4 separate regions of the Homo sapiens genome follow, and all the other regions are linked to region 4. The links are contacts of gene promoters, found by promoter capture Hi-C in blood cells and fetal thymus (Javierre and others, 2016). All regions are on one chromosome and are shown on one strand. Each heading gives the region's core, a stretch centred on a gene start or on the middle of the fragment in contact. The rest is flanking DNA. Distances are from core to core; before and after follow the strand shown. Region 1 has its middle 260 kb from the start of LINC01644. Region 2 has its middle 49 kb from the start of LINC01644. Region 3 has its middle 280 kb from the start of LINC01644. Region 4 holds the start of TAFA5 (TAFA chemokine like family member 5).

Region 1 (2,700 bases), core at 182-2,681, 1.3 Mb before region 4:
GCTAGTCCAGCTCACCACTGAAACACGTGCACAAGAGCTTTTCCTGAAGGCAAGCATTGTGCTTCGTCTTGGAGCAGAATGCTTTCTATGTACCCCTCATCTTGACATGTAGAATGTTAAAAAGTTGTGTATTCAAGCACTGCAGTTTAACAAAATTAATAATTTTTACTGTCATCAAGGACATATTTTTTCCTCTTTTGGACAAGCATGTGGCCATGATGAGCGCCGTGACTGCCAGTGTGGCTTGCTGTCTCTGCCTTCGTTGTGTAAGTGTTGGGCCAGTTTCACCGGGCATTGCTCTGACACCGTCAATGTAAATGTCAGCACAGTGTTCCAGAATAAATCATGAGATTTTAAAAGCCATTCCACAGCCTGAATATTTCAACATCACTTGTGTTTGCTGTCAAGAAGTCACAGAAAAGACCTTCTTTGGTGATAAGTTAGTGCTGATGCCAGACCGATGCAAGTACATAGCAACTCTAGCTATGTCTAGAGTCTTCCATTTGTAAGGAAAAAGCACAATTCTGCCAACAAAATATTAACTCGATCTTCATGTTTGCAGCTCAGTATTTATTCAGTGAGTTACCATATCATTGGGAAGTGGCAATGCTGTGATTTCTTCCATTGACTTTTCAGCCAGCAGCCATGAGCGATGTCCACGTTCATGGCTATACTCTTCTCTTGGTTGTTGTACAGGCTTCTCCAGCCAGTGCGATGCGGCGACTCTGTAAGATGCTTCATTGGCTTTTTCATTTCTGCTTTGAAAAGCTGCAACAAACAATTTTTGGCTTCTAAAGCTCTCATCACATCCATGTTTAAAATATTTCATTCGTTTTTTCTTTAAACTCTGAAAGATTGCTCTCAAAGTGCTGCCGCTACTTAACTGAGAGCATAATACTCTTTGAAAATGTTCTGTTGCATAAGACACAATAAAGCAAATATCAACATCTATAAAGCCAAGGAAATAGCTCTTGTCATATTTTTGTTTTTTACTTACAGTTTCACCCAGTTTCCTTGGAGTAGATTCCTCCCTTTCATCATTTTAGCATTTTTAGACATTGATGGTGCAGATGGGGATTGAGAAAGTCTTTTGATCTTCCTTGTTAAGCCACCAACTCATCTTTAAGTATAAATAACATTATAAATAAATATTAATTTTAGAATAAAATATTAGATTTTATATGTTTTTGACAAAATTTAAACACTTGGAAAATGTTCAAAAAATAAAATACTATTGCAAAACAAGACAATAAAGAGAAACAGACTTGAGTTAAGGGAAAAGGAAAATCCTTCCAAGAACTGTTTAGAGCTGTCCCCAAATAGGGCAATTGTCCTTGGGAGGAGAGAATTGCCCATCAACAGAGGTAATCAAGTATTAGCTGGATAACAACAGGCTGGGTTACCGTGGAGGAAACTTATCACCCATTGGGAACTTGCACTCAGTAACTGAAGGTTCCCCAGCTTAGTGGTCTATATTCTGTGCCCTGCATACCCCTGCTCCCCTGAGGTCTCCAGCAGCCCCCAACCCCCACACCCCATTTTCAAATCCAGTTCCTTCCCCATGGCTTCTCACTGCTCAGCCTTTTTGCATCCTTGAGGGCTTGGCACACATGCTCCATCTTGGTGCCTCCTCCTCCCCTGGCTTCCATGACACTAAGCATCCTGGATTCTCCCACTACCCCAACCACCAAGCTCTGTCACCTCCATCTTCATCCCTCGAAGCTATAGGACTTAGTCAAGCCTGGTCCCAAGCCCTTCTCCTTGTTCCTACCCCCATTCTTCTGGGGGCCTCACTCCTTGTCTCAGCTTCGTGTTGGAGCTTTCTCTGCAGCTGCAAAGAAATGAGAGGCCATGTCTTCACAGTCACGGATTCTGAAACCCAACTGGGAGACGAAAGATGCCAGGAGGGAGAAGGGAGAGCCTTCAGAGCACACTGTGCCAACCAGAGAGAGCTGCGCTGTGATGATTACAATGCCACCTCCTCCTGAGTCCCTGCCAGTGCCATCCACGGGCCAGGGCTTTTACCTCGTTAATCCTCTCAACAACCCCAGAAGGTCATGCTCCACTATCTTTGTGGAGCTAAGAAAATGAAGATTCCAGATAGACGATGAAATGTGTCCCCCATCTCCTAGATGGAAAGAGGTAAAGCCAGGACTCCAGCCAGGGCTCTTCTCCCCTAGAGGCCTGTGCTGTTAACCTTCACGTGTCTCCTTAGGGAAATCCTCTGTTCTCCAGGTGGAGAGGCCAATGGGGGCAGAGGAGAAGGTCAGGAGGAGTTCACGGGAGGGAAACCCGGCAGTCAAGGCAGATAAGACATGGCGTGGGATCACACCTTTGGGGTCAGAATCCCATCCCACTGTTTAGTTGCTGCCCATGAGGGGTGGGTTTCATCTCTTCTCCTGTCCCTTGCATATGCAATGGGGTTTGGTGTCCCCACCTCACAGGGCTGTTGTGGGAGTTAAACAGCATGATATGTGTGAAGGAATTGCCCCCAGCTTGGCAGGGCAGGCCCACAGCTTGTGCCGTTCCCTTCTGCCTCGGAATGTTTTTCTCTCGGAACATGGTCTTCCTTTACAGGATTGGAGCACCCTGCATATAAATGACAGCCAACATGGGATTTCTCTTGCTTTAGCAGAGAGAAAAAATAGCCTTCAATTACTCAGTGTGCATTTCCATTCAAAATGCTTGGTTGCTATAGCA
Region 2 (2,700 bases), core at 184-2,683, 1.1 Mb before region 4:
CATTCTTTTATCGGCTCATTTCCCTTGAAGTTGTCCTCACTTGTAGTCCTGCCAGTTCCCTAGAATGTGAAGGTGTTTCTATGGGACAGAATTGTAGAAGTGTTTCATGTGTTCATTAGTGATATTGCTTGGATGTCTGTCCCCTTCAAATCTCATGTTGAAATGTCATCCCCATTGTTGGAGGTGGGCCTGATGGGAGGTGTTTGGGTCCTGGGGGCAGATTCCCTCATGAATGGCTTGCTGCCCTCCCCTGGGTGATTAGTGAGTTCTCATTCTATCATTTCACATGAGAACTCATTTTTTAAAGAGCCCGGCACCTCCTCTCTCTCCCTTCCTCCCTCTTTTGCCATGTGACACCACTGCTCCTCCTTCACCTTCTGCCTTGAGTAAAAGTTTCCTGAGGCCTCACCAGAAGCCAAGCAGATGCTAGTGCCATGCCTGTACAGCTTGCAGAGCTGTGAGCCAAATAAAGCTCTTTGCTTTATAAATTACCCAGTCTCAGGTATTCCTTTATAGCAATGCAAAACGGACTAATACACTGGTTTTAAATCCACTTGGGCCCTAATTTCTACTTTCAGAGTTTTCCACCATAGCACTGTGTAGATTTAGAGTCCACACAGTCTGGGCTTGGAGTTCTCACTACCTGGGAGAAACCGTTTCTGCCCAAGGCAGCTTGTTTCCTGTCTGTTTCCTAAGGTTCGGGGAAAGTTGTACTATTTCCTCTCATAAATCAGATCAATCCTTCCCTGCTCTAAGCTTTTTGCAGAGAGCCCACATCTATCTCTCTTTTAAATATTGGACCCTCCAATCTTCACTCAAGACCTAATGCAGTCATTGACACACAGCCTTAAGTCACAAGTCTGTTCTAGCACTCCCGAAGCACAGGGTTTCATTTCCCCATTGCTAACCCACATGTTCTCTTGTACTGACTGGCACCTGAGATTTCCCAGGACTGCTTCTAAATCTGCTATTTACTTTTTTTTTTTAAAAAAAGCTTTGTTTATTAAATAGTACATAATTAAATATTAAAATTTAAATGTTGGAAAATTATTTTAATTAACATTAAATTAATAAAGAAAAATAACTTGTCTTTTTTGTTGTTTTAACACATTTATGTATTGTGTTTGGAGCAGAAAAGGAATTTGTCACATAGCTCATTTCACTGTTTTTCCAACTATCTATTGTGGCTGCCTAAGAAACCACCACAAAACTTAGTGGCTTATACCACTAACAAACTTTGCCCTTGCTTACATGTCCATAATTTGGGCAGGACCCAGCAAGGATGGCTCATGTCTGTTCCATGTAGTCACTAAGGGCAGCCTGATGGGGCTAGAGAACCCACTTCCAGGACAGCTCAGTCCGTGCTGGAGCTCAGTGGGTACTGTCAACTGGGGCCTCAGCTCTTCTCCATAAGGGGTCCCTCTGCGTGGTTGATTGTACTTCCTCACAACATGGTTGCTTGGTGCCAAAAGCCAGTATTCCAAGACACAAGAAGTGACAGATTCCAGCCTCTTAAGGACTGTGACTGAAAACCAGCATAGTGTGGTGGCTGCTGTATTTTAGTGTCAGGTATCACAGAGGTCGCCCAGATTTAAGGGGAAGGGGGCATAAATTGTTCCTCTAAATGGGAGGACTAGCAAAAGACTTGCAGCCATCTTTAATCTACCATATCATAGTAGTGGAGGTCTCCAATCTTCTTTTCTTTCAAGCTCTAGATTTTTAAAACACTTATCACTGGAAATTGCCAACCTAAATAACAAACAGAGAAAGGCTCTCTAAAATAAAATGATATTTCTTCAGGAATTGGGCATTGCAATGAGAATGCACATTCCATAGTAAGCGATGCACATATTCAGAAAAGTAAAGGAAGGCAAAGCTTTCTAAGGAAAAAGTGAGGAGGATTGTATAATTGTTCTGAGATCGTTATCCTTGGCTAAGAGAGTAATGACAAGGGTGAGACCAGTCTAAGACTGAACATGCAGTTGCTAGGCAGATGTCTTGAAGAAGTATGTTTTGTGTAAGGTTGCAATGGCCTTTGTGCAAGGTTGGGTGTTTCTCAGTCTTTTGTGATAGTTTGTGTTATCCGGCATTTATGGGTGAGAACCCTCCCTGCATGGCCTTCCCCAGCTCTATCTGTCAGGGTTTCTTTAAACCCAAGTGACTTCATTTTTACTCTGACAACTTTCACAAAATGTATCTGAGTATGCCCGCAATCCAAGATTCCTCTACATTCCAAATTCTCTTTTTCCTTTTCAAAATAAGGTATTCAGCATAGTTAGGATGGGAGCCTACCACTTTACCTAAAATCAGCAAACTTAAAGCAATTTGCCTGATGATCAATTACCTAATTCCCAGCTAACTTAAACGTCAACATATTTTATAACCTGTTTGTATGCACCACTAAATCTTATGTTTTTTCCCCTTTTGGTGGGAAGGGGGTTGTACTTTGAGATATTTTAAGAACACATTTCACTTATTCTTCCAAAAGACATGTCATAAAAATTACACTTCTGATAAACATTTATTAAGTGCAAAGAGGGTTAGACCTGCTTTGTATCCTTACCTGTGTCTTTTTTAATTAATTTTGATTTTTTTTTTTTGAGATGGAGTCTCACTCTGTCGCCCAAGCTGGAGTGCAGTGGCACAATCTCGACTCACTACAACCTCTGCCTCCTGGGTTCAAGCAATTCTCCTGCCTCA
Region 3 (2,700 bases), core at 100-2,599, 1.3 Mb before region 4:
ACTGATGGGATTCTTTGACTTGGGAACTCGGGCTGGACACTAGAGCAGCGAGCCCTCAGGTGGCAGGTTAGATGTGGGTTTACGGAGAGAGAGCAGGTGATCGGTCAGGGTTAGATGTGGGGTGACGGAGAGAGAGCAGGTGATCTCTCAGGGTTAGATGTGGGGTGAGCTAGAGAGAGCAGGGGATCTCTCAGGGTTAGATGTGGGGTGACGGAGAGAGCAGGGGATCTCTCAGGGTTAGATGTGGGGTGACGGAGAGAGAGCAGAGGTGGAGGGAGTGGCTGGGTCCTCCTTACTAGTGGGAGCCACAGGTGAGGGATGAGGGATGCCTGCCTGGGGTGGGGTCAGAGTGTCCAGTGGGCTGGTGAACATTGCCGGGTTGTGGGGACGCTCAAAATACTTTCCTGTTCAGCCCACGGCCACCCCCAGAAGCTGAGACATCCTGACGGGGCCTCCGTTCCTGGCCACCTCCAAGCTCACACATCACGGAGCCCCCAAGCCTGGAGCAGCCCTCTCTGGTACTCGCCCCATTCGGCCCAAACACACACCCCGTTCTTTTGTTGGGCTCTCTTGAAGGCTGGGCCCCCGCCCTGTGGGTCTCCTCGCACTGCTTGGTCCTGTGTGGCAGGGCCACTTGTCCTTTCCCCTCTTCATTCCTCCCCGGCTCCCCGATGTCACCCTCCCTCCCAGGCTCCCCCATGTCACCCTCCTTCCCCAGCCTCCCTGCTGAGGCTACTTTCCCTCCCTGGGCACTTCAGGGACACTTCTGGAAGGCAGACGTGACCCTGCCTTCCCCTGATCAGGGACCCTCTGAGCTCTGCAGGGTTTTGGTGTGGGCACCTGTCTCTAATGTGCTCACAGCCCAGGTGCCCTCTCCATGGCCCATCTCTAGGCAGGGGCAGGCCTCTGCAGCAGTGTCTGCAAGGTGGTGGGCGGTGGTGCAATGGCAGGCAGGGGACGGGGAGGAGAGCATGGCTGCTGTGGTCCCCCAGGACAGCTGCGCTTAGCCCCTGGTGTGGGTTTGTGCATTCACGGGCTCCGTCCCTACCGTGGACATCATCTGGTCATGGCAGATGTGGTTTGTGCAAGCCTGGGATGGACGTGGGTGGTGTGGAAACCCAGGCTGGTGGCAGGGCCTCTCGAACTCGGCCAGGCTCTTGCACTCCACGTTGTGTGGCTTTGGACAACTTGCCAGGCCTTTTGGAGCCTCTATTTTTCCATCCGTGAAATGGGCGTATAACACCTCCCAAGGCTGGAGGCCACAGTTAAAGGAATGTGACCATCTCCTGTTGCAGGAGGATCCCTGAGTGACTCTTGGGGGGAGATGTTATAATTCGCTTGGTTTCAGTCCCTCCCTCAGAATCCTGGGAAGATACTCCAGCCTGGATATTCCAGTCCTTTTCATCATTTTCCATTATTCAATGGAATTACTGAATTATTCCATTATTTAATGGAAAATGGAGAGGTGGCAGGAAAGTGCCCTCCAGGGCGGGAGGCAGGAGGCAGGGCTTGGACTCTGGACCAGATTGAAGACTAGCTAAAACAGGGAAGAGCCTAAAGCACCTCCTATAAGACACACCCACCGGTGCCATGTCAGTTTACCATTGCCATGGCAACTCCTGGAAGTTACCACCCCTTTCCATGGCAACAGCCCAGAAGTTATCATCCTTTTCCTGGAAATTTCTGCATAAAGTGCCCCTCAATTTACATGTAATTAAAAGTGGGTATAAATATGAGTCCAGGCCAGGCACAGTGGCTCACGCCTGTAATCCCAGCACTTTGGGAAGCCAAGGCAGGCAAATCACCTTAAGGTCGGGAATTCGAGACCAGCCTGGCCAACATGGTGAAACCCCGTCTCTAGTAAAAATACAAAACTTAGCCAGGCATGGTGGTGGGCGCCTGTAATCCCAGTTACTCGGGAGGCTGAGGCAGGAGAATTGCTTGGACCTGGGAGGTGGAGGTTGCAGTGAGCCGAGATTGTGCCGCTGCACTTCAGCCTGGGTGACAGAGCAAGACTCTGTCTCACAAAAAAAAAAAAAAAAAAAAAAAAAAGTGGGTGCAGCACTGCCTTTGAACTGCCGCTCTGGGCACACTGCCCATGGGATAGCCCTGCTCTGCAAGGAGCAGCACCTCTGGTACCACTTCAATAAAGACTGCTGTCTAACACCACCAGCTCGCCCTTGAATTCTTTCCTGGGTAAAGCCAAGGACCCTCCCAGACTAAGCCCCAATTGTGGGCCTGCCTGCCCTGCATCATGGGTGTTGGACTCCGGGTGGTTTGGAAGTGCTGGTTCTAGTATCAAAGACCCACACATGGATGTAGCTCAGAATGCTTTTGTGCCCGGGAAAAAGTTTGGGGTGATGTGGTTCTGTCACCTAAAGGGTCAGTCAGCTGGGCTGGTGAGAACAATGCTCTTGGCTGGAAGTAGCAAAGAAAATTGCGAGTCACTTTCAGTTATTTTCTGCCTCTTTCATGGGCTTTTCTAGACAATTTCCTTGTTTTCTTCCCTTGAGGTCTGGTCTCATTCTTCCAGCAATGACGTGGTGGATTTAAAAAACGTCCACCATAGTCTTTTGCCATTCCTCCCTCCAAGAAACAGAGGCTAATTTCCTACTCTCTTCACACATAGAATATGGAAGAAGTGGCAGTGAGGAACTTCCCAGGCCAGGTCAGAAAAGGCACTGTGGCTTCCCCTCTGTC
Region 4 (2,700 bases), core at 151-2,650:
GGACAGTCCACATCCCTTCACCTCCCTGGACCAGGCCTCAAGATGAAGGGATGATGCTTCTTCTCCCTGGTTGCTCAATCTGACTTGCAGGCCCTCTACTGGCTCCTCAGAAAAGGGTCTCCAGCGCCAAAAGAATCTCCTGGGGTGCTCAAGCCCCCAGCCCTATGCAGGATGGAGAATATCTTGTGAGTTCCAGAGGAGGGGTTCTATTAGTCGTGTGCACGAACCTGCAGGAAGGCAGAGCTTGGGGTGGTGCTGTGGCAGCTACCGGCAGGGGCCAGAGCCTCTCCAGGCAGCAGGGCCATCTGGACATCCTGGACTGGGGAGCGTATCTCCTGGGCTGTAGAGGGAGGTGCAGAGGGGACATGACTAGGAGGGTTGGAGATGGGGAAAGTGTCCTTGTGTCCTTACAAGGCTCATTTTCCCCCCATCCTTTGCTTGTTATAGGAGTGAACCTGTCTTGCAGATGATCGTTGACTATGCAGGTAAAATAGATTGCGATCATTGTCATCCTGCTCAGAAAACCCACCTGGATAGGACCAGTCCTGGGACTGGGAGCCCGGAGACGCCACTGAGAGCCGGTCCTGCAGGGACTCCAGGGAGATGAACCAGGAGATGGCTCAGCAAGGACCAGGCAGTGGCAGAGGTGCCCGAGTAGAGTGATCGTGGGGCAGAGGACTGAGGGAAAGTGCGTGCCTGTGCCTGGCAGTGCCGCCCCAGGTGGAGGAGGAGCCCTCAGGGTGGTGGGCTTCCGATGAAGGGTGACTCTGCTGGGGTCTGAGGCTGTGCTCCCAGTGGACTCAGGGACCCCACTGCACAAGCCCGATTTTGGGTAACAGGGCACACCTAGGGAACAGGCCCAGAGCACCCTCTCCTTGGAATAAACTCCGGATCCAAGTCCCAGAACCCACCTTAGGAGGCGTCTGCCGCCCCCGCCCCCTCCCCAGCCTTCCAGGCCCTGGCTGCGGTGGATGGGGGCGCGGAAGGCCCAAGTGCGCGAACTTCACCTGGCCCGGCCGTCCTCCCCGTGGGGGGCCCAGGCTGCGGGCGCGTCAGGCCGTCTCTGTCGCCATCCGGAGGAGCGGCTTGGGCGCCGCGTCCCCTCTGCCAGGCCCGGGTCGGCGGGCGGCTGGAGCCCCCAGCGGTGGCGGGCGCGCGCCTCTCTCGCGGATGCCGGGGCGCGCGTAGCCGGGGCGCGCAGTGACGCCCAGAGCGGGGCCGGCGTCCCCCTGGCGGGCCGGCGCGGGGTCGGCGGGCGCGGGCGCGAGCGCGGGCGGCGCGGGCGCGGCGCGGGGCGCGGTGGGCCGGGGCCCGGGCGCGGCGGCGGCGGCGGCGGAGGATGGCGCGCGCGGGGCCCGCACGTGGAGGCCGGCGCGGGGGCGCGGGCAGGGCCGGCTGCTGAGACGCGCTGCTGCCCCCCGCGCGGGCGCCGCGGCTTCAATGGCGCCATCGCCCAGGACCGGCAGCCGGCAAGATGCGACCGCCCTGCCCAGCATGTCCTCAACTTTCTGGGCGTTCATGATCCTGGCCAGCCTGCTCATCGCCTACTGCAGTGAGTACCGCGCGGCCCCGGCCCCGGCACGGCCCTCTGGGCCCCGGACCCCCTCCTCCGGCCCCGGCAGGCGCCCCGCGGGCCTCCCGGAGTCGGCGCGGAGTTACGAGCGCCGGGCGCATGGTCCCCCGAGTCCCGGCCGGTCCAACGCTGCGCTGGGCGGGCGAGAGGGTCCACCCGGGTTCCGGGCGCTCGAGCACTTCGGGGTCGGACGCCCCGGCCCGAGCCTCCCTTCCCTGACTCCCCGGCAGGGCCCGGGCTCCAGGCCCCGGGTGGCGCGGCCCGTCCCTGCCCGGCGGTCGGAGCCCAGCCAGCGGCTTCCCGGCCGAGATGCGCGCTCAGGAGGCAGCCGCAGGTCGCGGAGGGCGGGCGGCGCTGCCGGGGTGTCTGCGGAGCGCCCTCCCCGTGCCTCAGCCCGGGACAAGGGGGGAGGCGGCGGCCGAGCCCGGAGAGGAGCTCTTCAGGCAGGAGCCCAGCCTGGGCTCGGAGGAGCAGCTGGAGCTTCCGCTTTCCCGGGAAACGGGCTCGTCAGGCGCCTTCTGGAAAGAGAAGCGAAGTGAGGGATGGGATGCCCGGAGGGGGCTCGCCGCGGCCGCGGACGTTTCTCGGGTCGTGTCTGGGGCCCGAGCTGGTGACCGGCGGGACTGGCGCGGGCGCGGGCTGGGGTGGTGCGGGCCAGTGGGCGCCCGGGCGTGAGCTGAGGGCTGGGGTAGGGGGTGACCGCCGCGGGCTCCCTGTTGCCTGGAGTGAAGGGTGGGGGGTGGCCTGTGCCCCTGCCGAGGCTCCAGGCGGGTGGAATGAGGGGTGGTTGGAGTCCCGGGTGCAGACTCCAGCCTCGGCGCTGGGGAGGGTGCTCAGCATCCCGGGGCACGTTCGCGGCTGGTGGGGTAAGTGGGGGCCGCTCAGCGTCCCGGGCACAGGCTCTGGCCCCAGATGGCGCGGGCTGGTCGGCTTCAGCTCCGGGAGCTCCGGGCTTCTTGTCTTCAGCGGGAGAATAGGACGGGTGCTGGGGAGCACCTGTCATGGAGAATTGCCATGGGCGCGGGAGGTGATGGAAAAATATGGATTCTTTACAAAAAAAAAAAAAAAAGGCCAGCACCGAACCTCCCTCCACAGACACCACCTCCTCCAGAGCCCCGGGCCTCCAA

What was found. Contacts are between HindIII fragments. The CHiCAGO score rates a contact against its expected background, and 5 or more counts as called.
Region 1: a fragment that was not itself captured here is called in contact with the fragment with the promoter of TAFA5 in region 4 in 2 of 17 cell types (total B cells and M2 macrophages); the score reaches 7.1 in total B cells.
Region 2: a fragment that was not itself captured here is called in contact with the fragment with the promoter of TAFA5 in region 4 in 1 of 17 cell types (naive B cells); the score reaches 5.9 in naive B cells.
Region 3: a contact is called between a fragment that was not itself captured here and the fragment with the promoter of TAFA5 in region 4, in 3 of 17 cell types (endothelial precursors, naive B cells and total B cells). The highest score is 8.6, in endothelial precursors.

The regions. Positions count from the first base shown.
Region 1 is chr22:47,230,078-47,232,777 of GRCh38, forward strand. No RefSeq gene overlaps it. Among named protein-coding and RNA genes, the nearest start is that of LINC01644, 260 kb to the right of the region's middle. The HindIII fragment of the contact is 6,773 bases long and covers 1-2,700 here.
Region 2 is chr22:47,436,429-47,439,128 of GRCh38, forward strand. No RefSeq gene overlaps it. Among named protein-coding and RNA genes, the nearest start is that of LINC01644, 49 kb to the right of the region's middle. The HindIII fragment of the contact is 882 bases long and covers 993-1,874 here.
Region 3 is chr22:47,204,773-47,207,472 of GRCh38, forward strand. No RefSeq gene overlaps it. Among named protein-coding and RNA genes, the nearest start is that of LINC01644, 280 kb to the right of the region's middle. The HindIII fragment of the contact is 4,357 bases long and covers 1-2,700 here.
Region 4 is chr22:48,488,153-48,490,852 of GRCh38, forward strand. TAFA5 (TAFA chemokine like family member 5) reads left to right here and starts at 1,401. Exons shown (of 4, transcript NM_001082967.3): 1 at 1,401-1,552. The coding sequence starts at 1,441. The HindIII fragment of the contact is 4,041 bases long and covers 1-2,700 here.